7 separate regions of the Homo sapiens genome follow, and regions 1, 2, 3, 4, 6 and 7 are each linked to region 5. The links are contacts of gene promoters, found by promoter capture Hi-C in blood cells and fetal thymus (Javierre and others, 2016). All regions are on one chromosome and are shown on one strand. Each heading gives the region's core, a stretch centred on a gene start or on the middle of the fragment in contact. The rest is flanking DNA. Distances are from core to core; before and after follow the strand shown. Region 1 overlaps RIPOR2 (RHO family interacting cell polarization regulator 2). Region 2 overlaps RIPOR2 (RHO family interacting cell polarization regulator 2). Region 3 has its middle 2.0 kb from the start of GPLD1. Region 4 overlaps RIPOR2 (RHO family interacting cell polarization regulator 2). Region 5 holds the start of KIAA0319. Region 6 overlaps GPLD1 (glycosylphosphatidylinositol specific phospholipase D1). Region 7 holds the start of MRS2 (magnesium transporter MRS2).

Region 1 (2,700 bases), core at 43-2,542, 190 kb before region 5:
CTGCAAAGTTGACCAGCTTTGCTTTGTGGGCAAAAGGTATTCATTTCAAAGAGCTAAGACACAAATTGATGCCATCTAAAGTGAATTCCTTAGAGAAATCCAGTAGTGATAGCAGCTCCCATTCCAGGCATCTAGGGTGATGGTAAGTAGCTCAATCCACAGGAAACACTAAGCATTATTAAAAACTGGTGATCAGAGACTTCTTTCCAGAGTATTATTTCAGTCTGCTGTTGTTCCAAAATTGTCCTGCTACTAAAATCCTCAACTGCCCCTTTCTTTGTCATGACCAATATTTAAACACATCTGTACTGTACAAGATAAAATTGTGCAGACACCTTGCTTAGGAAAAAAGACCCTAGAAGTAGGTGAAGTCAAGACCGACTCCCTGTCTCCCCCTGAGACTGCTGAAAACATCACTAGTGAGTGTGTTTAGGTCTGGGGCAAATGGCTTTGTATCCAGCCAGAATTAAAGCATCAGCTGGACAAAGCTTTCTCTTTTCTCCCTCCTTCACATTCCTAGGATGCTAAACACCTTGACGATCAGAAACTAAATGGTGCTGCCTCTTGGACGGAGATCACTGAGGGTGAATGAGACAACTGTGATTTAAAAGACCGAAAGACGTTTTCCCATGTGCTTTTGTGCCATCTTGAGTGTCAGAGACAGATCCCTGCAAGGCCCTTCCTACCTTGCGCTAAGAAATCAGCAAGGAGTGTCACCTAACTGGATGGAGGACATTTAGTGCTTCTAACTTGCAGAATTTGTCCCATTCGACCCACCCCAGCATCCTCTTGAATATTTGGAAATACTTCTCTCCAACTCTGTGCCCATAGCAACTGGCATTGTTTTGCTTGTAATGTTTCTGCATGTGGCCAGCATTATAGAATGCTCCAGGCCAGAGAATGGGATTGCTCCCATGATGCCAGGGCCTGGTCAGGGAAGTGGTGGGACTTGTTCCCTTTGAGGCAGAGCTCCAGAGGAAGCAGGGCTGCTTCTTGTCATGCCCAAGGCATTCATTCTTTCCTCAGTCCTCAGAGGAAAAATTATATGCTGTGAGCAGGTGCGGTGGCTCATGCCTGTAATCCCAACACTTTGGGAAGCCCAGGATTGCTGGAGCCCAAGAGTTCAAGACCGGTATGGTCAACATAGGGAGACCCTGTCTCTGCAATAAAAGAAAAAAATTAGCCTGGTGTGGTGGCACATGCCTGTGGTCTCAGCTACCTGGGAGGCTAAGGTGAGAGGATTGCTTAAGCCCGGGAGATTGAGGCTGCAGTGAGCTGTGATCACACCACTGCACTCCAGCCTGAGTGACAGAGCAAGACCTTGTCTCAAAAAAAAAAAAAAAAAAAAAAAAAAAAAAAAGATGCAGGGCTTCTTACCTAGGGAACATGGGCTAGGTGAATTTGAACCACTTCCTGTTTCTGGGATTTGTTTTGTTAGTCCTTTAGAGCAGATGCCTTAGATAGCTAGCGCCTTTTGTAAAACACCGAAGACATTGCCACTTGGAATTAGAGATTGGTCAGTATTCAGCATTGACTCACTGACTTAAAATTTGTCTGCTTGTGGTATTTTATTTTGGGGTGAGCACTAGGCAGAGGGATATAGCAGTTCTGTTTCCCAAGGCTTTGTGGTTGACATGGTTTTGTTTTTTGTTTTTTTTGTTTTTTTTCAACTTTTTGTTATAAAAATTTCAAACAGAAGTAGAGAAGATCCTCTAATGGATCCCAGTGTGCCCATCCCTCAACCTCCTCAGTGATCAACTCATGGCCAATCTTGTTTCCTATTCTTCAACCTGCTGACTTCCCTCTGGATTCTTCTGCAACCAGTCCCAGATATTGTGCCATTTTATCCATGGTTGTACTTCTTTTTTGGATATAAAGATTTTTAAATGCATTTTTTAAATGCTAACAAAAAATAAAAACTTGAAACAAAAAAAAAAGTGTGGCATCTCCAATTGAGCATCGTGTGTCTGGTTTCTCTTTCCGGATATGTTGATGTTCTCCCTGGTGCCTTCTGCCTTTACAGTGCAAGCCAGCAGTAAGCCGCAGCAGGTCTTCCAGTTTAAGTCTCACAGTTGAAAGTGCTTTAGAAAGCTTTGATTTCCTGAACACCTCTGATTTTGACGAGGAGGAGGATGGTGATGAGGTTTGTAATGTTGGCGGAGGTGCTGACTCAGTATTTTCAGACACTGAGACTGAGAAACACAGGTAAGTCTGAAGTTAGTGTCTCCTTATATTTCTCCTGTCACAGCTGATACAGTAGTTCTTTGTTACTGTCAGAGGGGACCTGGTACACATTTCCAGGAAGATAAAACTCTCCACATGAGTGACCAGTTGGCTTACAGTTCCTTTTTATTGTCAAGTGCAATAAAAGGGTCAATATTATTCACCTCTTTTGGGTTGCTTAAGGGAAAATAAATATCTTTATATTTCCTCTTTATAAATAGAGAGGAAAATTTTGTATGAGAGTGTTTTATACAAGTACATGTGTACACATTTTTTTTTAAGACGTAGTCTTGCTCTGTCACCCAGGCTGGAGTGCAGTGGTGCGATCTCAGCTCACCACAACCTCCACCTCCCAGGTTCAAGCGATTCTCCTGCCTCAGCTTCCGGAGTAGCTGGGACTACAGGCACCCGCCACCACACCTGGCTAATTTTTGTATTTTTTTAGTAGAGACGGGGTTTCACCATGTTGGCCAAGCT
Region 2 (2,700 bases), core at 195-2,694, 160 kb before region 5:
GGGAGAAAATTTTCGCAACCTACTCATCTGACAAAGGGCTAATATCCAGAATCTACAATGAACTCAAACAAATTTACAAGAAAAAAACAAACAACCCCATCAAAAAGTGGGCGAAGGACATGAACAGACACTTCTCAAAAGAAGACATTTATGCAGCCAAAAAACACATGAAGAAATGCTCATCATCACTGGCCATCAGAGAAATGCAAATCAAAACCACTATGAGATATCATCTCACACCAGTTAGAATGGCAATCATTAAAAAGTCAGGAAACAGGTGCTGGAGAGGATGCGGAGAAATAGGAACACTTTTACACTGTTGGTGGGACTGTAAACTAGTTCATCCATTGTGGAAGTCAGTGTGGCGATTCCTCAGGGATCTAGAACTAGAAATACCATTTGACCCAGCCATCCCATTACTGGGTATATACCCAAATGAGTATAAATCATGCTGCTATAAAGACACATGCACACGTATGTTTATTGCGGCACTATTCACAATAGCAAAGACTTGGAACCAACCCAAATGTCCAACAATGATAGACTGGATTAAGAAAATGTGGCACATATACACCATGGAATACTATGCAGCCATAAAAAATGATGAGTTCATATCCTTTGTAGGGACATGGATGAAAATGGAAACCATCATTCTCAGTAAACTATCGCAAGAACAAAAAACCAAACACCGCATATTCTCACTCATAGGTGGGAATTGAACAATGAGATCACATGGACACAGGAAGGGGAATATCACACTCTGGGGACTGTGGTGGGGTCGGGGGAGGGGGGAGGGATAGCATTGGGAGATATACCTAATGCTAGATGACACATTAGTGGATGCAGCGCACCAGCATGGCACATGTATACATATGTAACTAACCTGCACAATGTGCACATGTACCCTAAAACTTAGAGTATAATTAAAAAAAAAAAAAAGAAAAAAAAAAAAAAAAAAGTACTAAACGAATGGGAACTCCTGACATGGATGTTTCCCTTTCAATGGCAAGATGTAATGTTTGACCTACTTTCATCACAAAAAAATAAGACAAATCAGTCTTGAGAAAAGAATGAGAGAAGGCCAGGTGCAGTGGCTCATGCCTGTAATCCCAGCACTTTGGAAGGCTGAGGCAGGCGTATCACTTGAGGTCAGGAGATCGAGACCAGCCTGGTCAACATGATGAAACCCCGTCTCTACTAAAAATACAAAAAAAATTAGCCAGGCATGGTGGCACACACCTGTAATCCCAGCTACTGGGGAGGCTGAGGCAGGAGAATCGCTTGAATCCAGGAGACAGAGGTTTCAGTGAGCCAAGATTGCACCACTGCACTCCAACCTGGGCGACAGAGACTCCATCTCAAAAAAAAAAAAAAAAAAAAAAAAAAAGAATGAGAGAAGGCCACACCTTAGAACTTGCCAAAATCTTGGAAAAGAGCTGCAGGCCTGATAAAGAAAGGAATTAATACCTCAAAAGAAAAAGTTAATGGCCTGTGATCAAAAACAGCTCTAGGGCCAGGCATGGTGGCTCATGCCTGTAATCCCAGCACTTTGGGAGGCTGAGGCCGGTGGATCACCTGAGGTCAGGAGTTTGAGACCAGCCTGGCCAACATGGTGAAACCTCATCCTTACTGAAAACACAAAAATTAGCCAGGCGTGGTGGCGCACACCTGTAATCCCAGCTACTCAGGAGGCTGAGGCAGGAGAATCGCTTGAACCCAGGAGACAGAAGTTGCAGTGAGCCAAGATCACGCCACTGTACTCCAGTCTGGGTGACTGAATGAGACTCTGTCTCAAAGAAAAAAAAAGAAACAGCTGTAGGAAATTTTGCCTTGTTACTTGGTTAAAAAAAAAATTACCTTCAGGTGCCCAAATAGAAAGCCCACAGTGATTGCTATTTGGGTGCTTTCCTGATATCCAGTGATATATCAGTGACAGATGTCTGTGATACAGACAAAGTAAATAAAGACATAAGGATACAGTGATCTGCATGGGTTTTCATACTCTGAATCCACTAGACTGTAAATTCTTGAGGACCAGAACCATGTCTGGTTTACTGTGGAATCTCTCATGCCTTATGAATAGTCTGGTTCATGGAGTGCTCAATAAATATTTGTGGAACAAACAAATAGAAGAATTGTCATTAATGGCCTTTACCTCCTCCTCTATTTTAGCATATAAACTAAATAGTAAGAATTTTTTAATTAGAGCCATTTTGGAATCAGTGAGATTCAGTGGAAAGAACCAGGGAAAATGGATTCTACTCTGGAAAAGCAAGCTCGTCACTTCACTCCTCTAGACCAGGAGTGTGCTGTGGAATGAGGAATTTAGCTGATCATCAGAATTCCTGAAAGTAAGAACTCTGGGCCCCATCCCAGGAAATTCTGATATAGTGCATCCGGAGTGGCACCCAGGAATATTGGGTTTCAGACACTCAGCTAGGTTTGACCCCATAGGTAAAGTGGTTTTTAGCATTCCTACCAGCTGGCCGGGCACAGTGGCTTACACCTGTAATCCCACCACATTAGGAGGCCAAGGCAGAAGAATTCGACTAGCCTGGGCAACATAGTGAGACCTCATCTGTACCAAAGGTTAAAAATTAAAAATCAGTCCTGGCTACTCAGGAGGCTGAGGCAGGAGAATTGCTTGAGCCCAGGAGGTCAAGGCTGCAGTGAGCTATGATTGCTCCATTGCACTCCAGC
Region 3 (2,700 bases), core at 199-2,698, 150 kb after region 5:
GAAGTTTTAGGTGGCATATTAATATGTTAATCTTACACCAATGCAGATGTAAAATGTGATTTCTATTTATTGTTTACTTATTTTTGTGACAGGAAGTACTTCACAAAGGCAAAAGCGCCTGGAGCTTAGAAAGTTCACAATGTGGCCCTCCCCTTTTCCCTCAGTTTTGTGCCCCTCTTCAAGCCCCCATTCAGAGTGTAAACAATTTCCTCCTGGCTCCTGTCTTACTTCCAGCCTGTCCTGATGCCCCCTAGCGCCTGGCTGGGTGTCTGTCCTTACCAGGGCCTACAAGGACAAGACCATCAGGTGAGAGGGACCTCTTCCCTCCTTTCTCCTTTGGCTGCCCTTGTCCTGGGAACCTCCACTCCCCAGTTCCCACCCTTATTCATCCTCTCCCCCATTTTCTTTTTCTTTTTTTTCTTTCACTTTTTTTTTTTTTTTTTTTTTTGAGTCAGGGTCTTACTCTGTCGCCCAGGCTGGAGTGCAATGGCACGATCTCAGCTCATTGCAACGTCTGCCTCCTGGGTTCAAGTGATTCTCCTGCCTCAGCCTCCAGAGTAGCTGGGAGTACAGGTGCGCGCCACCATGCCTGGCTAATTTTTGTATTGTTTAGTAGAGATGGGGTTTCACCATGTTGGCCAGGCTGGTCTTGAACTCCTGACCTCAGGTGATCTGCCCACCTCGGCCTCCCAAAGTGCTGGGATTACAGGCATGAGACACTGTGCCCAGCCTCTTCTCCCCCATTTTCTAGACTGGCCCACATAAAGCTTGAGACCCTCTGGCTTTCAAACCTGTATTCTCCCTACTCACTCCTTAATGTAACTGTATGTTTACTTTTCACCTTGGGTCTCTATTTCCAGAAGAGTTCTAAATGGTAGAATCATGCTGTCTTGTTTATAACAAAGCCACCTATATTAGGAAAGGGGGGTGTGGGGCAGAAAGAAAAATATTTCCATATGCTTATTATTTGTCAGATAGTAATATTGTGAGCTACGTTTTAACTTTCTTTAAAGTCATATCTTTGATGTTTTTATTGTTACCAAAGTAATACAAACTTCATAAAACTGCAAGCAATATTGTCATATAAAGACCATATTCATAACTATCACACTAAGCAAATAATTTCCTCTTATTTTATTACATTTATACGTTTATGTCATTCTGAATCTCAAATACAAAAAAATGCATAATGAGAAATTGAGACATTTGGGATTAGTATTGTTTGGTAACTGAACCCATTCCTTTTTTTTTTTTGAGGTGGGGTCTTGCCCAGGCTGGAGTGCAGTGGTGTGATCTCAGCTCACTGCAACCTTCACTTCCCAGGTACAGGCGATGTTCCCGCCTCAGCCTCCTGAGTAGCTTGGACCATAAGTGCATGCCACCATGCCCGGCTAATTTTTGTTTTTGTTTTTTTCTTGGTAGAGACGGGATTTTGCCATGTTGCACAGGCTGGTTTTGAACTCCTGGCCTCAAGCCATCTGCCCGCCTTGGCCTCCTAAAGTGCTGGGATTATAGGCGTGAGCCACCACACCTGTTCTGAACCCATTTCTTTGGTGCTTTTTGGATGGGTTTGTTGTATTATATATGGTTAGATATCTTTTCTAGCAGTATTTTTTTCCCCTGTAACCATTGATTGACTGCTCTTGGATGTTCTGAGAGACAATATCCAAAGTCCCAATTAATAATTGTGACTCCCTCACGCACAGTCTGTAGAAGGCCCAGAGTGACAGGGAGGCAAACTCAAAGGCCTCTGGTGGCCAGAAGGGGTGTGGAAACCTGCACACATTGCATGGATGGTGGGGACTGGAGGAGCAGGACATGCTCTATCAGGGGGCAGCTGGCTCTTTGGCTGCAGCTGGTTGTCGTGTCACATGGGAGCGTCAGTTCATGATGCCAGTTCTTTTGTTTTTAAGAGAGCCAGAAATCTAGATTTCTACGTGAATTTTCTCATTTAGAAAAAGTTCATAAACTTGATTTAAGTTTATAAAACATCCTGTTAGCCAAACAAAACACGTAGGCATATGGCCTCTGGACTAATCAGGAGTAGCTGGGCCTACTGCCCCTCAGGTCTGGGGGTAGCTGCGGGATTTCTTTCCTTGGGGCTGTGCACATGGCTGTGTTAAGCTTACAGGGGAAACTGTTGGGGCGACAACTGTTGTCAAATCATTCCACTTTCTTTTTTTCTTTTCTTTTTTTTTTTTTGAGACAGGGTCTTGCTCTGTCACCCAGGCTAGAGTGCAGTGGTGCAATCTCGGCTCACCGCAATCTCCACCTCCTGGGTTCAAGAGATCCTCCCACCTCAGCCTCCCCAGTAGCTGGGACTACAGTCACGTGCCACCACACCTGGCTAATTTTTGTATTTTTAGTAGAGACGGGGTCTTCACTATGTTGATCACGCTGGTCTCAAACTCCTGACCTCAGGTGATCCACCAGCCTCAGCCTCCCAGAGTGCTGGGATTACAGGTGTGGGCCGCCACGCCCAGCCAAATCATCCCACTTTCTATTCATCCTTTCATTTGGCAAACCTGAAGTGAATACTATTTCCTCCCACTCTTTTAGGAGCCCATCTCTTGCTTTTAATGTAAAATATGCATAATTTGTGTTTTAAGATTACCATCAGTTTCATGAAGAGCTTAATTTTTCCCATGGATGAAGTGTAAGTGGGTACCTGATAATATATCGTGAGCTTAACATTTTCCA
Region 4 (2,700 bases), core at 128-2,627, 210 kb before region 5:
TTCTTAGGCTGTGCTGTGTGGAGCAAACAGGTAAATGCTTCTCGTTGTTCACGCAGTGGTTGTGCTGCTGTTCGAACGTCGTGTGCTTTGAGCTGTTGGGTGAAAGGCTAGCTCTCATGATCGTCTCCTGTCCTCTTTGCAGAATATGTGCACCATTGAAGTGGAGCTAGAGAATCTGCTGGGAGAATTCTCCATCAAGATGAAAGGTATTATTTTCCTTGTTTAGAGAGAATAAGGAGCCATCTCTGCAGAGTGCAGAGCTCCTTGAAGTTTGAGAGCCCATGCTATTTTTATTTTCCTTGCAAAGACGCAGCGCCACCCACTCTCAACCCACCCCACTTTTGATAGTTTACTGATGCTTCTCATCCTGAGGCTTACCTACACACACAAAAATATTATGACAGAATCTCAAACATACACAGAAGTGGAGAGAACATTATAATGAGCCCCCATAAACCCATCACCTAGATGTAATAATTAGCAAGATTTTGCCACATTTGCTCCATCTCTTTGCTTTTGTTTTTCCTTTGATAAAAGAGAAGTCCTTTGATGAAATAAAACCCAGATATGTCAGTCTGCTGCTATACACTTCAGTATGCATCTCTTAAAGCATGGGGCTGTCATCTTACATAACCACGATGCCAAGTACTGTCACGTTTTCACAGCTAACAAAAATAATAAACCCTGGTTATTAACCCATTCCATTATCAGATTTCCCCCGTTGTCTCAAAAATGCCTTGTACATTTGATTAGTTCAAATTAGGATCCCAACAAGGTCCATGCATTACAATTGGTTGTTAGGTATATCTTTTAGATTTCCTTTAATCTAAAACAAACCTCTCCCTACCTTTTTTTCTACCCTTGACTTGCTGTAGAAACCATTGTACAGAATGTCCCACATTCTAGCTTGTCTGTTGGCTTCTTTGGGGTGATCTTTAAATTCTTCCTTTAGCTCCTCATGTTTCTAGCAAACTAACTATGAAATTTTGTAAATCTTGGTGTTAAACCCACAGAGAATTTTTCCCCTCCCAGTGCCTTTCTGGTATTTATTCCAGAAAGTTCCAAACTAGACACATTATTGAGTTAAACCACAGCATCTTCAGAACAAAAACGAAGTCTGGTTTTAGAAAATAGAGCATTGCTCAGGTGTTGTCAGATTTACGGCTCAGTGGCCAGGCATGGCTGTCAAATGAGCGGCCATCACAGCAAGTCAATTTCTCTTCCAAGTTTTGGCCCATCTGACTGCAGTGAAGAGGGCTGGTGCTTATGCAATTCTGAGGTTTCTTAGCAGCTTGATCCCTGGGTTGCTAATGGGGATTTAATCACCTTCTTTCTACTTTCTGCAATTAAGGGAGTAAAGAAAGGAGACTTTTTTTTGAAAGGGCTCGACAGGAGGGCTTCATTTTCCAATGAATCATCTAACTCAGGAGGGAAATTATTCTGTCAAGCACTAGGCACTGACATGTAAGAGCCTGTCTGAGAATACCTGGAATATAAATGACCTTGACCCTCAGCTTCCCAAATGGCTGCATGCTTCTCTTCCGGCAGATCCGGTAGGGAATCAGTTTAGTATTCAGTGTTAAGTTTCAACACTTGCTTTGCTACTGAGTCTGGCATCTGTGCTTTTTTCCATTTTTTAGGTCCATTCTCTACATTTTTGGGTCCTCACTTGAGTCAGTGGTTCCAAAATCACGCAGGTCCATAGTCCCACGTGGGCCCTGGAATTTTTATTTTAACTTTGAGGATGATTCTATCAGCAGCCTGATCAATTCTGGAAAATAACTGCCCTGAATCAGTGTTTAGCAGAAAACCTTCCCTCTACTTCCCCCAACTCTCAGACGCCACCCACACAGACTAGCACAGTCGCAGAGTCTCGCAGCCTAACAGTAATTCAAATCATGCACATCACCTATCACTGCTAATATAAAAAAGTACTATATTTCTCCTATTTCTGATGCTCAGTATTATCAAGTGCATCTATTTTTGGTGGGATGGTAATTTCCTGATTTTACAGATGGGAAATAGGGGCCTAGAGAGGCTAAATGACTTGTCCCAGGAGTCACACTTAAATTGGAGTCAGACAAGAAACTGAATTCCAGGGTTCTTTGTTCCTAATGCATTCCCACCTCTAACTCCATGTTATGAGGGAAGTTCAGAGCTGAGCAGACAATATAAACCATTGCTCAAAGAATGGTCTCCCTCACGGGCAGATCCTCTCCAACCTAGCACAGAGACACCCTAGGAGTGGGATGGGGAGGAAAGGGACCACCCTCGGACCAGATCTGGAGCTTCAGGCTTGGTGTTCAGGGAGGAGATGATGCTGGAGTCCCTGCCACCTACTGGGGGACCTGGCCACCCCGCTACATCGCAGCCCTGATGGACTGATGAACTTGCTGTTGCTCCTGCTCCTCCATCTCCTCCTCTCTCTGTTGTTCTTGCTCTCCTGCCTGATGTTCCTGAGAGTCCACCTGAACGCTTGGTTTCTTCCATGGGGTTTCTCAGGCCTGAGACTAAATCTCCTTCCTCATTGATAGACTCCTGTCTCCTCCACTTTCCTCATCTAACAGGCAAACTCAGAAACTACATCTGTGAAGGCTTTCAATGGTAAACACCCCCATGGAAATCTTTCTCTTCCTCCATAAAGAGAAAGGGAAACCTCATGCTGCCAAGAAATCCTATTGTCTTTGCAATTAGCTGCTT
Region 5 (2,700 bases), core at 28-2,527:
TCTTTAGTTTTTATTTATTTATTTATTTATTTATTTATTTATTTATTTATTTATTTATTTATTTTGAGACGGAGTCTTGCTCTGTCGCCCAGGCTGGAGTGCAGTGGCACGATCTCGGCTCACTGCAACCTCCGCCTCCTGGATTCAAGCGATTCTCCTGCCTCAGCCTCTCAAGTAGCTGGAACTACAGGCGCGGGCCACCACTCCCGGTTAATTTTTTGTATTTTTAGTAGAGACGGGGGTTTCACCGTGTTAGCCAGAATGGTCTCGATCTCCTGACCTCGTGATCCGCCCGCCTCGGCCTGCCAAAGTGCTAGGATTACAGGCGTGAGCCACCGCACCCAGCTGGTTTTTACTCTTTAAATGTGCATTATCTTATTTGATTCCCAGAATCATCCTATATGAATGCTATTATCTTCATTTTATAATTGAGGAAACAGGTTTATCTAGATTAGGTAACTTGTCTGAGGCTCTTCGGTAAATACGAGTAGCCAAGAAGCTTATTCATCAACAGTGTGTGACTCAGCCCTAAGCACTGCACTTATACCTCCTAGTAATGAGATGTGCGAGGAATGCCCTGGCTACCTTTTCTGCTCATGATATTATCCCTAGATGCTTTCGCATCTTTATTAAAACAGTAAAAATGCAAGAGTCTTCCACCCAAGTTTTCTGTGGTTTAGATTATCACGTTCCTCAAGATGCAAATGTCAAACTATACTGGGCATCCAGTTAACCTGCAAGGCCTGGAGGTGATGGGAGCCCCTCCTAGCACAGGTTCCCAGTCTCAGTCAGAAAGCACCTGCTCAAAATAGAAAGATAATTACAGAGTAGGGGCCAAAGAGACTCCCACTGGAAGAATGGAACTTGTGTAGCTGGGGTGACACAAGCTGGGGACAAGCTGGGGGACACATTCGCGAAGGGTGTTTGACCCAGGCAGTGCACCCACGGCTCCCTTGAGCCACCCTGGCCCGGGTGTTTATTTGGAAGGAGTGTTCATCCCCCAGACTGTTTAGGGCCACGGTGACAGGGAAGGGCTTGGTGAAGGAAAGCAGGTAGGGTATGAAGGCCGCTCAGGTTCACGAAAGACTTTTGCTTGGTCCCCTGCGGGGTGGGAGTGTGTCGCCCCGGTGCGGGTACTTAGAGCGCAACCGGGGAGCTGAGCAGGGGAGCTGAGCAGGGGAGCTGGGCAGGGGCGGCTGCCGCGCCCCACATCCCTGAGGGCGTGTGTGCGCGTGCGCGCGCGTCGCCGTGGTAACCGCGGCGGCGGAAAGGCGCTGAATCACTGGCGCGCGCTTTCCCCGAGCCTGCAGAAGCTGCCGCGGGCGGTGGGCGGGGATCCCCCGGGGGTGCAACCTTGCTCCACCTGTGCTGCCCTCGGCGGGCCTGGCTGGCCCCGCGCAGAGCGGCGGCGGCGCTCGCTGTCACTGCCGGAGGTGAGAGCGCAGCAGTAGCTTCAGCCTGTCTTGGGCTTGGTCCAGATTCGCTCCTCTGGGGCTACGTCCCGGGGAAGAGGAAGCGAGGATTTTGCTGGGGTGGGGCTGTACCTCTTAACAGCAGGTGCGCGCGCGAGGGTGTGAACGTGTGTGTGTGTGTGTGTGTGTGTGTGTGTGTGTGTGTGTGTGTGTGTAAGACCTGCGATGACGACGAGGAGGAACAAGTGGGACGGCGAGTGATGCTCAGGGCCAGCAGCAACGCATGGGGCGAGCTTCAGTGTCGCCAGCAGTGACCACAGGTACGGTATCTACTTCCCAGAGCGCCTGGCCGAGAAATAGGAAAGAGGGCAGCCAGTAGGCAGGCCAATACCCAACAAAAGTAGAATCGAGACGCCCTGAGTTCAGAAGGTGAGTTTCTTAAGATTCTTCTGGGCATTCAGGAAAGGGCATTTTTTGATTGCTGCACTGATTGTTGACTAGTAGGGTGGAGTCGGGGAAATTTGAGTGTCTTTTCCCAACCTCACGAATTGCATTTTTTTAGAAGTAAGGAATCGTTTTCTTTAAACTTCATTCAGAACTATTTATGTGATCTTTCCTATTATTTGCTAAATGCATTTTGTCTCTGTTCCTTACCATAACCTGAAGCTTAAAATCTTTCTCTTCTTCCCTTTGAATTCCCTCCAAGGAATGTCACAAATTAATCGGGAGGATAAACCTGAAATTTTGAGAGTTATCATCTTAAGGTCATTTGTTAATTAAATACAAGGAGGAAAAATATGATATACATACTCATGTGCACTTTTATTGCTGGTTTGTTCATCAAAACATTTTTGTTTGTCGGTGAAATGTTAGTATTTTTTCCACTGCTTGAATTGAAAAGTTGAATGATGTTTTTGATAGTAACAGAAAAAATAAATTGTAGACAATGTTCCCCCCCACACACAAGAATTTTGGAAGTAAATGTTGGTATTTATTTCTTTATTCCTGAAATACATGCTCACTTTCCAAATGCTTCAATTTATTATAAGAAGACCACAATTGTAGAGACTACTAAAGTTATGCCAAATCTAAACTTTTATTTTGTGCTTTTTTTAGTATTATTTTTAATTCAGATGAGGAAAACTGGAGGTGTCAGTTCAGTTATAGACGTAGGAGTCACAGAGAAAGGTGAATTCCTCTGTAATTTGAAAAAGGGAAATGTAAACATATTACCTAAGTACTCTGATTTATTTGTATTAACCATTTGTAATGCATTTGCATTTGTAAT
Region 6 (2,700 bases), core at 95-2,594, 220 kb after region 5:
AGATAAGCACAGGGCTAAGCATAGTGTCTGACCCATGATACAACCTCCACAAATTTTAGCTATTATTATTATTTCTAGATTTCATCAGTAGTTTTCAAAATTAAATAAGAAACTGTCATATCCTGCTCTGACCAAAATACTGTCAGCCAGTTTGATCACCCGTACCTCATGTGCCAGCTTTGGTTCAGAATAACTTTTGTCAGTTTCCACAAATCAAATCCGACCTCGGAGTATGAAGATTTGCCACCACTGAAAATATTTAAAGACCAGGCATGGTGGCTCACATCTGTAATTTCAGCACTTTGGGAAGCCGAGGCGGGTGGATCACTTGAGGTCGGGAGTTCGAGACCAGCCTGGCCAACATGGTGAGAGCTCGTCTCTACTAAAAATACAAAAATTAGCCAGATGTGGTGGCACATGCCTGTAATCTCCGCTACTCGGGAGGCTGAGACATGAGAATCACTTGAAACTAGGAAGCAGAAGTTGCAGTGAGCTGAGATCACATCACTGCACTCCAGCCTGGGTGACAGGGCAAGACTCTGTTTCAAAAAAGAAGAAAATGTTTTAAAAACTTGCAGCAGGTTTTGAAGGCAATTCTGAAAGATGGGTCCTAAAATGTTTTAAGCAGCAGGGTAGGTGGGAGGTACGCTAAACACATTGACAAAGCCAGCTTCTAGGGGAAGTCCTTACTATTCAAGATATGTTTTCCACATTGTACCAGAACTAAGCATGCACTGCCCTACTTCTCCTTTATGATTTATGTGCCAGAATAGGGATTGGGGTGAGCATCCTTAGCTGCGGTTTTCAGAACTTATAGATGTGAGAAAGCGGTCTGTAAACAAAGGGAAAGTGGCATTTGAGTTCAAGCCAGGGGATCTGGCCAGTGTCTTATTCATCTTTATATTTCTAGAGCATAGCATGATGCCTGGACTACCATAGGAACTCAATAGATGTTATGAATGAGCCATGAATTCTGTCTTGTGTCCCTTACAGAACCAAGTCGTCATTGCTGCTGGAAGGAGTTCTTTGGGAGCCCGACTCTCCGGGGCACTTCACGTCTATAGCCTTGGCTCAGATTGAAGATTTCACTGCATTTCCCCACTCTGCCCACCTCTCTCATGCTGAATCACATCCATGGTGAGCATTTTGATGGACAAAGTGGCACATCCAGTGGAGCGGTGGTAGATCCTGATAGACATGGGGCTCCTGGGAGTAGAGAGACACACTAACAGCCACACCCTCTGGAAATCTGATACAGTAAATATATGACTGCACCAGAAATATGTGAAATAGCAGACATTCTGCTTACTCATGTCTCCTTCCACAGTTTACTTCCTCGCTCCCTTTGCATCTAAACCTTTCTTCTTTCCCAACTTATTGCCTGTAGTCAGACCTGCTGTACAACCTATTTCCTCTTCCTCTTGAATGTCTTTCCAATGGCTGGAAAGGTCCCTCTGTGGTTATCTGTTAGAACAGTCTCTGTACACAATTCCTCCTAAAAACATCCTTTTTTAAAAAAAGAATTGTTCAGCCATAAAGAAAGAACAAGATCATGCCCTTTGCAGGGACATGGATGGAGCTGGAGGCCATTATCCTTCATAAACTATTGCAGGAACAGAAAACCAAACACTCCATATTCTCACTTGTAAGTGGGAGCTAAATGAGAACACGTGGACACATAGAGGGAAACAACACACACTGGGGCCTATGAGAGGGCGGAAGGTGGGAGGAGGGAGAGATCAGGAAAAATAACTAATGGATACTTAGGGTGATGAAATAATCTGTGTAACAAACCCCCATGACACACCTTTATGTATGTAACAAACCAGCACTTCCTGCGCATGTACCCCTGAACTTAAAAGTTAAAAAAAAGTTGAACTTAAAAATAACAGATTGGCCCATGCCAATCAAAGTATAATAGAAAGCATAGTATACAGAAAAAAAAAAAAAAAAGAAACTGAGGGAGGAAAAATAGTACAGAGTAAAGCATGGGGGTGAGGGATAACCTCACATTCCAAATCACTTGTGACTTAGTCCTTTTTAACTTTTATTTTAGGTTCAGTGGTACATGTGAAGGTTTTATCTTTTCTGTTCCTCCCACCTTCCCCACTCAAGTAGACCCCAGTGTGTGTTGTTTTGTGTTCATAAGTTCTTTTAACTTAGCACCCACTTGTGAGAACATGCTATACTTGGTATTTGGTTTTCTGTTCCTGGTCGTGTGTTAGTTTGCTAAGGATGATAGTCCTTTTTTTTTTTTTTTTTTTTTGAGACGGAGTCTTGCTCTGTTGCCCAGGCTGGAGTGCAGTGATGTGATCTCAGCTCACTGCAACCTCCGCCTCCCAGGTTCAAGTGATTCTCCTGTCTCAGCCTCCCAGGCAGCTGGGACTACAGGTGCACAATACTACGCCCGGCTAATTTTTGTATTTTTAGTAGAGACAGGGTTTCACCATGTTGGCCAGGCTGGTCTCGAACTCCTGATCTCAGGTGATCCACCCACCTTGACCTCCCAAAGTGCTGGGATTACATGTGTGAGCCACAGGACCTGGCCGATAATCCTTTCTTAATGAGGATTAATACCTTTTCAATGTTTATATAGTGAAGGACAAATATAAAAACCAAGACTATCACCCTTCTGTGCCCTCCAATACTTTTGTAGAGTTGGCTGTTCTAACACCTAAAGAGCCTAGCGACACTGCTAGT
Region 7 (2,700 bases), core at 193-2,692, 240 kb after region 5:
TTATCACTATAAGGGTAAGATGAATAAAGGTAAAAGGCATTTGCTGATTACAAATGCCTTTCAATGTTTTAATGTCACAAATTAGAGTGTAACCGGGATTGAGATTGTGAACGTCAATGCTTGTCCTAAAAGTTTCCTCCAACTTGCTGAAACTGGATTCCCAAGCATTATCAATTGAGGGTGCAGAGCATGTAACCCAACTTAGCCTCTCCAATAAGTGGAGAATGAGGTGCTGACGAGGAGTTACTTTGGGAGGCTTTTGAGAGCACAATTGAGAAAACATATTTGAGGACACTGCTATGTTCTTAATAAAGTCATTCATTTCAATACCTTTTATTCCTCAAATATTTGCACTCACATTTGTGAAAATCTTAACTTTTCACCATGCTTCAACATTTGGTGAAAAAATAAACAGCAAATAAGATTTTTTTTTCTCAATCCGATCTCCCTGGCTGTTTACTTATAGAGTACTGTAGTTGAAAGTAAGTCGTTCTCAGAAACAACTCAGTCTTTAGCCTCACTTCTAGGTGCGTCCCCAATCTCCGTGCAACTGGACAACTGTATAAATGTGTCCATAACGAAGAAACAGAAAACAGGGAAGTATTAATTTATACTTATGACTTCCGAACAGATGAAATCCTTGTTTAAAAACACCTCTCGGCCAGGTGTGGTGGCTCACGCCTGTAATCCCAGCGCTTTGCGAGGCTAATGCGTTAGGATGGCTCGAGGCAAGGAGTTTGAGTCCAGCCTGGGCAACATAGTAAGACCCTGTCTCAAAAACAACACAGAAAAAACCTCTTACAAGAGCACTTAAGCGGGTGTTAACTAACGTGATCACGGTCTGTAAACGATTCCTAGGTTGTTCCTATGGTTACATAATCTGCAGCAAGGGCGGTGGAGGAGAAGGCAGAGGGTTGGCCGCTGGGACCCCGGCAGGGCACAGCGCACATAGCAAGGTCGCATTCTGAGCGAGTGGGACGCAGCTCGGCCCGCGGGCCTGTGCAAGCTCACAGGACACGCGGGAGGCCGAGGCCTGCGGAGGGCGCGGAGCAACAGGCGCGCCGCGCCGGACGGCTGGGGCAGCAGTCTAAGGTCACTGCAAGACCAGCGTCCCAAGGCTGTTGCCGGGGAAGGGCAGTACCTGCCACGCGGAGCCGGTCGGGCCCGCAAAGCTGCGCCGCTCGGCTCCTTCCAATCAGGTTGGCTCGGCGGCCGCAGGCAGCAACGGGAGGACCCACAGAGGTCACGTCCAAGGCCAGGGCACACAGCGTCCGCCGGGGAAGTCTCATCGCGCGGGGCAGGAGGCAGGGTAAACTGCGCAGGCATTCCATGGTGCTGGAGCAAGAAGCAGGCAGCAGCCAGACCCCAGACCTTCATGCCGGACGCTGGCTGCTCAGGCCGCAGCTCTGACCTGTCGCTACCGCCCGACCTGCAGACTCTGTGCACCAGGCATGCGCGGGGCGTGCCGCGCCTGCGTGCTACTTCCCCACGCATGCTCGGAAGGTACCTGTGGGCGAGCCTGTTAAGTCCACAGCCAATAGACGTTTGCTTGCCTACCTGTACCTGCACCTGTACCTAAGTGAGGGGGCAGGCGGGCTGGGAGATGGGTGGAGCACGTTTACCTGCACTAAGTGAGCTGTCCAACCTAGGTTCTTGGGCGCTTGGAGTGTCATGGTTTTGTAGTTTGTGGAGAATTTTCATACCTATGAAAATTGCAGTTTGGAAATGAGCAGGTTACCCATTCCCACATCATTTAATTTATATTTAAATTTAACGTGGTGTAGGGAGCAAGAGGGAAAGCTCCTACTTTTGCCCTCTGAAAGTTGCTGGAATGAACTAAGTAGACAGATTAGCAGGAGAAAAAGGCATACAAAATTTGCTTAACGTGCATAGGGAAAAATCACAGAAGAGTGATTACTCAATAACTCAATTAAGGTCCAGATGCTTGTATACCCTTCTTTGTTGAGTAGAGGGAGATAGGTATGAATGGGCCCGAAAGCCAGACAGTGGTTTGCAAATGATTCTCCTTGGACATTCAGTGGGACAGAAGTACAAACAATCGCTTGTGGACAAGCTGTGAAACTTCACTCTGAACAAAAATTGTCCTATTATACAGGTAAAGTTTCCCAGGTAATCTCTTGGAGCTACCCTCAGAAGTATCTATGAAAAGTCTCAGTGTGGCTATGACTTTCAGTTTTTGTCTCTTCTCTGGGTGATTAATCTCTTCTGATTATTTAATGCGATTCCTAAGGAACGGGTTTTAAGACAATTGCATTTCTTTGGAAAAGAGTTTTCTCTGTCAGATAAGGAAATTCCTTATCTGGCTGTGCAGGAAAAGAGAGCCCCTTCAGGTGCTTGGAAAAAGTAAGAGTATCAGAGAGACAAAAGGAAGGGGGAAGGTGAGAGAGAGAGGCCTTGATTTTTAGGCTTCTTTCTGAGACCCTTTTAATTTCCTTTAATTCAAAGACTCAACATGCCACCGGGCGTGGTGCCTCATGCCTGTAATCCAGCACTTTGGGAGCCAAGCACTTTGGGAGGCCAATGTTGTGGACCACTTGAGGTTAGGAGTTCAGGACCAGCCTGGCCAACATGGCAAAACCCGTCTCTACTAAAAATACAAAAATTAGCCGGGTGTGGTTGCAGGTGCCTGTAATCCCAGCTACTTGTAAGGCTGAGGCATAAGAATTGCTGGAATCCAGG

What was found. Contacts are between HindIII fragments. The CHiCAGO score rates a contact against its expected background, and 5 or more counts as called.
Region 1: a fragment that was not itself captured here is called in contact with the fragment with the promoter of KIAA0319 in region 5 in 1 of 17 cell types (neutrophils); the score reaches 9.9 in neutrophils.
Region 2: a fragment that was not itself captured here is called in contact with the fragment with the promoter of KIAA0319 in region 5 in 1 of 17 cell types (neutrophils); the score reaches 5.7 in neutrophils.
Region 3: a contact is called between a fragment that was not itself captured here and the fragment with the promoter of KIAA0319 in region 5, in 3 of 17 cell types (total B cells, fetal thymus and naive B cells). The highest score is 7.1, in total B cells.
Region 4: a fragment that was not itself captured here is called in contact with the fragment with the promoter of KIAA0319 in region 5 in 1 of 17 cell types (neutrophils); the score reaches 11.1 in neutrophils.
Region 6: a fragment that was not itself captured here is called in contact with the fragment with the promoter of KIAA0319 in region 5 in 7 of 17 cell types (total B cells, M1 macrophages, M2 macrophages and 4 more); the score reaches 7.4 in total B cells.
Region 7: the fragment with the promoter of MRS2 here is called in contact with the fragment with the promoter of KIAA0319 in region 5 in 7 of 17 cell types (M2 macrophages, M1 macrophages, M0 macrophages and 4 more); the score reaches 9.2 in M2 macrophages.

Annotation. Positions count from the first base shown.
Region 1 is chr6:24,838,596-24,841,295 of GRCh38, reverse strand. It overlaps RIPOR2 (RHO family interacting cell polarization regulator 2), which reads left to right. Exons shown (of 22, transcript NM_001286445.3): 14 at 2,024-2,205. Among named protein-coding and RNA genes, the nearest start is that of ARMH2, 41 kb to the right of the region's middle. The HindIII fragment of the contact is 1,603 bases long and covers 491-2,093 here.
Region 2 is chr6:24,809,916-24,812,615 of GRCh38, reverse strand. The region is part of intron 20 of RIPOR2 (RHO family interacting cell polarization regulator 2); the gene reads left to right. Among named protein-coding and RNA genes, the nearest start is that of ARMH2, 12 kb to the right of the region's middle. The HindIII fragment of the contact is 5,753 bases long and covers 1-2,700 here.
Region 3 is chr6:24,490,254-24,492,953 of GRCh38, reverse strand. It overlaps a transcript of GPLD1 not described here. Among named protein-coding and RNA genes, the nearest start is that of GPLD1, 2.0 kb to the right of the region's middle. The HindIII fragment of the contact is 1,357 bases long and covers 770-2,126 here.
Region 4 is chr6:24,858,479-24,861,178 of GRCh38, reverse strand. RIPOR2 (RHO family interacting cell polarization regulator 2) reads left to right here. Exons shown (of 22, transcript NM_001286445.3): 8 at 143-206. Among named protein-coding and RNA genes, the nearest start is that of ARMH2, 61 kb to the right of the region's middle. The HindIII fragment of the contact is 4,946 bases long and covers 1-2,700 here.
Region 5 is chr6:24,644,768-24,647,467 of GRCh38, reverse strand. KIAA0319 reads left to right here and starts at 1,277. Exons shown (of 21, transcript NM_014809.4): 1 at 1,277-1,732. RefSeq lists a silencer at 1,223-1,432. The HindIII fragment of the contact is 1,579 bases long and covers 502-2,080 here.
Region 6 is chr6:24,427,412-24,430,111 of GRCh38, reverse strand. GPLD1 (glycosylphosphatidylinositol specific phospholipase D1) reads left to right here. Exons shown (of 25, transcript NM_001503.4): 25 at 994-2,700. The coding sequence ends at 1,080. Among named protein-coding and RNA genes, the nearest start is that of MRS2, 26 kb to the right of the region's middle. The HindIII fragment of the contact is 4,577 bases long and covers 1-2,700 here.
Region 7 is chr6:24,401,678-24,404,377 of GRCh38, reverse strand. It overlaps MRS2 (magnesium transporter MRS2), which reads right to left and starts at 1,442. Exons shown (of 11, transcript NM_020662.4): 1 at 1,142-1,442. The coding sequence starts at 1,331. RefSeq lists an enhancer at 71-805 and a silencer at 2,563-2,700. The HindIII fragment of the contact is 7,340 bases long and covers 1-2,700 here.